Linked DNA regions of Homo sapiens: region 1 is linked to region 2. The links are contacts of gene promoters, found by promoter capture Hi-C in blood cells and fetal thymus (Javierre and others, 2016). All regions are on one chromosome and are shown on one strand. Each heading gives the region's core, a stretch centred on a gene start or on the middle of the fragment in contact. The rest is flanking DNA. Distances are from core to core; before and after follow the strand shown. Region 1 holds the start of SELENOF (selenoprotein F). Region 2 holds the start of USP1 (ubiquitin specific peptidase 1).

Region 1 (2,795 bases), core at 100-2,599, about 24 Mb before region 2:
TGTCCGCTTCTCCTCAGCCGACTAAACGGCCGCCCCCTCCAAAAGCCCGCGCAGCAAACAGCGCGAAGCGGCTGCCGGGCTCTCGCCTCCCTCTACTGCCTCAGTCCCCGACCCCCGCGCCCGCCTGCTTGCCCGCCTCCCTCTCTTCCTTCCTTCCCTCCCTCCTTTGCTCGCGGCCGCGCGCCCCTCCACCGGCGCTGCGGCTGCGCCGCCCTCATCCCCGCCCCCGCCCATCCCCCTCCGCCACCACGCGCACGCATCCGCGTACGCTGCTCGGCAACCAGAAGCCCCGCCCCTCCCCCCGTTCGGGTCCGCTTATTGGACGGAAGAGCCCCTGCGCTTCGCTCTTGGTTCGGTTTACGGTTGGTTTCCTCTGCCACAGAGCTCAATCAAGACGACATTCAATTGGGTAAACTTGGAGAAGAAGGCGGGGCTAAAACTGGCGAAGGCGTGGCTTCTTGGCTGCTTGACGAAGTGTCGTGAATAAAAGAAAGGAGACCGCAGAAGTAAAGAAGTGGGGAGTTTAGGCAAGTGCCTGATTTGGGTAATCGAAAGCACCCAGTGATTGTATTTGATGACTTTTAAGCTTTCATATGCCGTTATTTAATACCTGTCACTTCCAAATGAGAGATGTAAGGGCAACGGCCGTTAGCGTTCTGTTTTGGATCAGGCTCTGGAGTGGACGCCCCTAGCTTAGGGGTCCTTCTAGGCAGCCAGAAACCTGCGGAAAATGGTAGCGATGGCGGCTGGGCCGAGTGGGTGTCTGGTGCCGGCGTTTGGGCTACGGTTGTTGTTGGCGACTGTGCTTCAAGCGGTGAGTGTAGATCACCTTCGCAGCTGCCACAGGGAGAGTAGGAGTGATTGCAGCTGAGAAAGACGCAACATTCGGTCCTGGTTGAAAAGGGTGGGGAGGACTGCGCTTCCTTAATGACTGCTGCGGCCAGAATGCAACGTGGCTTAATTTCTCGGTTGATCCTTCTCCTTCCCCGCCTTGGGTTTCTAGCAGCAGTTTTCTCTTGATTTCAGATTGTCTTGGGTACGTAGCTTCTCTTATACGGCTCTTGCTAAAAACAATCTGTAAACCACACCAGGTGGGAGGGGGGAATAATAAAGCTTGGCAAGAAGTGGAGGTTGTTTTTAAATGGACAGAAATGCAAGAGACTCATGACGAGACTTCCAACTCTTAGAGGCAAGTCTTCAAGTCGTTGGTCCAGGCGAACAGTTTGTGTTTACCTCTCTCGCGCGCGTGCTCTCTCATTTTCACTACTTCTGTTAGTCTCTTAACTTCCGTTCTCCTCTGCTATTCATATACGGCTGGCTGCGCTTGAGTGCGATTTGTGCTTTTAAACAATGTTGTTGGAGTAAAAGGAGTTATCTATACCAAAGTATAATTCATTTTTGAAGTTAGTTTTTTAAATGATGTTCGTTGTCTTCTTTAAGGCAGCGTTTTTTATTTCATTTTTCTCTATTGGCAGAATAGATGGGTGACCTTTGAATGGGAAAAGTGTACTTTTAACTTATTTCTTCTCATATCCATGTTCTGCTGTGTGAATAGTAAAATTTTAGGCACAGTGCTGAAAGCTTTTACGTTTTTTTATCCTAGCTTAATTCTTCGGGTAGTCTCTAATAAGGAGACCTGGTTTAATTTACTTATCCAAGGTTGAGGGTGTTAAGGGACTACACCGGAGTCCTCTATGAACACCTGTACTTACCTTTCTCAAAGAGCTTGAAAGCATCCTGGCTGTTTGCTTTGGCTACTTTAACCAAAAGGTAGATTCTTAACTTCTGTAATTAACATTCCAATTATCTTGTTATTCAGGCATTTGGTGCTAGGAATTACTGGATCACCTCTCCCTAAACTTTCTACTGTTTAAGGGTTTTTGCACATCTTTAGGTCATTCGAGATAACATTTCAGGTTGTCTTTTTTTGATCTCCCTCTGTCTTTGACTGTCAGTTGTCTATAGCTGTGTAACCGCCCTAAAACCTAGTAGCTTAAAACAGCAATGATTTCTCATAATTCTGGGTCAGTGGAGTAGAACTACTCCACCTATGTTGGTTTTCCCCTGGCCTCATTTATGCTTTTTGTTGACCTAGTAGGTCAGCTAAACCGAAAGGTTCCAGGATTACCACTGTTTATAGTTGGTGCTGTCAGCTCGAGGACTTGGTTCTGTTCCGTGTGACCTCTCATCCTCCAGTCGGCTAGACCAACTTCTTTTCATGGCACTCTCAGGGCAGCACTCCAAAAGAGCAAAAGCTACAATGCCTTCTAAAGCCTTGCCTTGGAAATCACATATATTACTTCCATCACATATTTCTCAAAGCAAGTCACAAGACTAGTTCACATTCAGGGATGGAGAAATAGATTTCATCTCTACATGGGAGGAATGACAGAGTCACTTTGCAAAGTGTGCATACCAGGATAGGAGGTATTTATGGAATTAACTAATTCCATATGTAATAATGATAGGAATTAATTAAACAGCGTACCACAGTGACTGTGCACAGAATCCAAACTAGAAATTTGGATGTCATGTTTGACTCCTTTCCTTACATATATCATATCCAGGGAATTACTGAAACTTACTGATTTTAATTCCTAAGTATCTCAAATCCATCCACTTATTGTTAATCACTCAGGCCATAAACATCTCTCTCCTCAGAAATAACAGCGTCTTGGTTCACCGTTTGAATTATCCCTGGCTGTATTCAGAATCTAAATGGTTGGCTTTGCCTTTGTCAGCTTCCCAATTGCCCAAGCCAAAAATTAGTCATTTTTGGCCAGTTGTGGTGGCTC
Region 2 (3,235 bases), core at 592-3,091:
TGCACTTTGTGTAAATCCAATTCTTAATGCACTAGAAACCACAATACTCGTTTTCCAAACTTTTTAAAAAACTTTGGATTTTAAAAATAGTGCTTTGAGTAGGAAAAAAAGATGATTTGGTTTGCCATTTGCAACTTTCCCACCCTGTTTTAAAGTAAAACTTGCACGTGAAAAAAAATGGCAACATTTGTAGGAGTGTAGGAGTTAATATTTTCTACATCAGGCCTATTTTTCAGGACATGGGAGGAAAAATTATCTGACTAGAGTATTACCATAAAATTACTTAAAGCCCAAAACTTCAGCAACGAGTTTCAAATTTAAAATGCAGAGTAATAAAATGAACTACACAAGACTCACTCAAATTTCATCCTTAATAAGCATTTCACATGGCTGACACTGATCTAGGAATTCATACTGAACTCAGCACACTGAAACCATTTCTGAGACCCAAATCAGGAAGCACTGGAAAGCTGATCCATCTCTCCATTCTGTCTCCAACTTCACTTACTCTCCTGTCTACCTAATGCTTCTGAGGAAGCGCTGTCTTCTGAATGATAAACCAACCTGCGCTAAGTTCTCAGGGATCGCCAAGCATTAATGATTCTGATAAAAGGTTTTTCTCGAGAGCCAATTTAATGGATGACAGAAACTGGATCTCAAACCGACAGAGTAACCAGACTACACAGAAGGGAAGAATGATTAGGCAGGTGAAATAGCGGATCGTCAGCTTAATCAAAAAACCAAACCTCCTAGCCCCTCAAAGCAAAGCTCACACCGAGAATGTAACATTTTGCCAGGTGCAGTATCTTCCTTGCTATTTCTTGCTCCTGGCTTTCCTTGTAACTGGGGGGCTGTTACATCCAAAATATTTCTCCTGTAACTAAATCAACTTTCGCAGAAAGCACGACGAATCGACCATTATCTGTTGACAGCGTGAACACTCAGTCCCAATAGTTTTAAATTCTTTATAAGATGACACGACTCGATTCCGATTTTTCAACAAAAATCTACAAGGACATCTTCGCCAAGGTTTAAGACACGCGGCGTTCTAAACACTTCTTGAAAAAGTGTAAGTGAAAGAAAATGCGCGGTAAAATTTCGCAATTACCGACACAGGGCAACCTGCGTGGAAACGTTTCTTTCTCCCCATCCTTCACCGCTCTCGGGAACGGAAAGAAAGCTGGAAGGACGAGCAGCGACCAGGCTGCCCGGTCGGGGGAGGCTGGCGGCGGCGTCCTCGGCCCACACCCCCGCGCCGGGCGCCCTCGCCGCGGAGTTGGCCTATTTACGCCCAGCCCGCACCTGCCTTCTCGCGTCCCGGCGGCGGCAAGACAGGCGCCACGCCCGAGGCACACACGGCTCCCCCTGGCAGGTCGACCAGGGTGCGAGGCCAACACGGTCCCGGGGTCTCCCCGGCAGCTCCTCTCCCGCGCCGGCCGAACTTGCCCCCGCGCCCGGGAGCCGGCCCCTCCTCCCAGGCCCTCCTTACCTGGTCATGGCCCAAAGCGAAGTCCGCGGCGGTGACGCCGGCAAGTCCAACCCGAATGAGTGTGGGTGCGACAGGTGAGTCCCTGCCCCGAGCCCGCCGGGTCCCCGGCCCCAGGAAAATCTGGTCGGCTCGCCCTCCCCGCGGGGGAGTGACCATCCGCTCCCAAGAGCGGGAACCCCGACCGCCGCTCGCTCCCGTCTTGCACCAACACCAACTACATCCCGGGAGCGGCGCCCATCTGCGCCCGCCCCGGGAGAGCCAGGAGCGCAACAAGCAGCGGCCCCGCTCGCCGAACGCCTGAACCGCTAGGGTCTTTAGCACTCCGCCACCGAGGGGAACTTGGCGCGTTTTCCTCAGTCTCAGGACCCCCGTGTTTTAGCCTCCGCCCGCGCCAGCGCTGCGATTGAACGTGGCGTCCTTTGAAATTGCCGGTTCCAGTCTCCACGCTGCAGAGACACGAAAGGCAGGAGCCGTCTCGCGACGGCCACTCGCCCCTGGCACGCACGGGCTCCGGAGCCAGCTGGGACTGTAGTTCCCCAAAAGCCTAACGGGTTCCACAGTTTCAAACAACGCAGGCACAGAGCCGGGCAGCTCGTGCGGGTCCTCGCTGAGGGCGCGCGCGAGGTGCTAGCGGCCTGGCTGGCGGGCTCGAGCCTCACACCCTTTTTTTAACCATTCGTGCGCGCGAGTTGAGGGAAAAGCGTACGGGTCGGGAGACGGGACAGAGAGCAGACGGGATGGGCCACCACCTCGAGAAGGAGCCCAAATTCACCAATCCATGATGAACAATCCCCAAAACCGCGCCTCCCACCGCCCGGGGGAAGCCAATCAGAAGTACCTAGACCAAAGCCAATTAGATGGGCGGGAGCAGCAAGCCCATCTAATAGCAAAAAAGAAGAAAGGTGGGCTCCAGCCAATCATTGTTCGACATACGGAGTGTTCCTCAGGCGCGGTGCCCCTCCTTCCGCTCTCATTGGCGCTCGAGTGCGCGCTTTCGCTGCCGACTGTTAAAATCTTGTTTGGCGTTTTGTTAATCCTCGACGGTGGGACGCCGCGGAGGGTGCGGCTTCCGGAGCGAGGCCCTCGCGGTAAGCCCCGCCTCCGTTCGTGCGTACGCGCCCGGGCGGGGTTACCAAGAGAGCAGCTTCGGAAAATGGCTGCCCGGCTGGACGCCGCCGCGCTTGGGCTTTCAGTTCGGAGTCGCGGCCACACTAGGCCTAGGGCCATCCAATGAGACAAGGCGCTGCCACGGATAACAATACATGCTCAGGCGAATGCTGTAGAGCTGAGGCCCGGTCCTCAGCCCCTGCTCGCCTCATTTTCGCCTGTTTACCTCTTCCCTTTCTCGGCCGCAGGAGGAAACGAAAGAACAGTTTCAGGCCCAGCTCCGGCCGCGGGAGCTTCCCAGGGTTCCCGCGCGAGCCCTCCCAAAGGGTTCAGGAGCGGCAGGCAGGCCTCATCTGGTTGTGTGCTTCCTTTTGTGTTTGTGTGCCTGCTTTGGTGAGGTGACCTCAGCTCAAGTGCTGCAGTTAAGCAGGATACGTTCAGCCCAAATCCATTTAATCAAGTATTTTTAAGGTGCCTACTATGTGCCAGGCATTTTTCAAGGCGCGAGGGATGTAAAGGCATTCCCTGTCATAAAGGAGCATTACATTCTGGAGAGGGAGATACAAGTGACGCTAAGATAAGTGATAGATACGATAGCCTGGAAAGACCTCTTTGAGTTGACATTTGAGCAGAGCTGAA

The links. The method cuts DNA at HindIII sites, captures the fragments that hold promoters and counts their contacts. A CHiCAGO score of 5 or more calls a contact.
Region 1: a fragment that was not itself captured here is called in contact with the fragment with the promoter of USP1 in region 2 in 1 of 17 cell types (non-activated CD4 T cells); the score reaches 5.4 in non-activated CD4 T cells.

The regions. Positions count from the first base shown.
Region 1 is chr1:86,912,047-86,914,841 of GRCh38, reverse strand. It overlaps SELENOF (selenoprotein F), which reads left to right and starts at 716. Exons shown (of 5, transcript NM_004261.5): 1 at 716-814. The coding sequence starts at 731. HS2ST1 (heparan sulfate 2-O-sulfotransferase 1) reads right to left here and starts at 207. Exons shown (of 7, transcript NM_012262.4): 1 at 1-207. RefSeq lists enhancers at 467-586, 637-796, 190-804, 907-956, 805-1,419. The HindIII fragment of the contact is 468 bases long and covers 1,116-1,583 here.
Region 2 is chr1:62,435,655-62,438,889 of GRCh38, reverse strand. USP1 (ubiquitin specific peptidase 1) reads right to left here and starts at 1,841. Exons shown (of 9, transcript NM_003368.5): 1 at 1,490-1,841. RefSeq lists a silencer at 1,185-1,244 and enhancers at 1,945-2,014, 1,839-2,606, 2,575-2,924, 2,607-3,235. The HindIII fragment of the contact is 3,360 bases long and covers 1-3,235 here.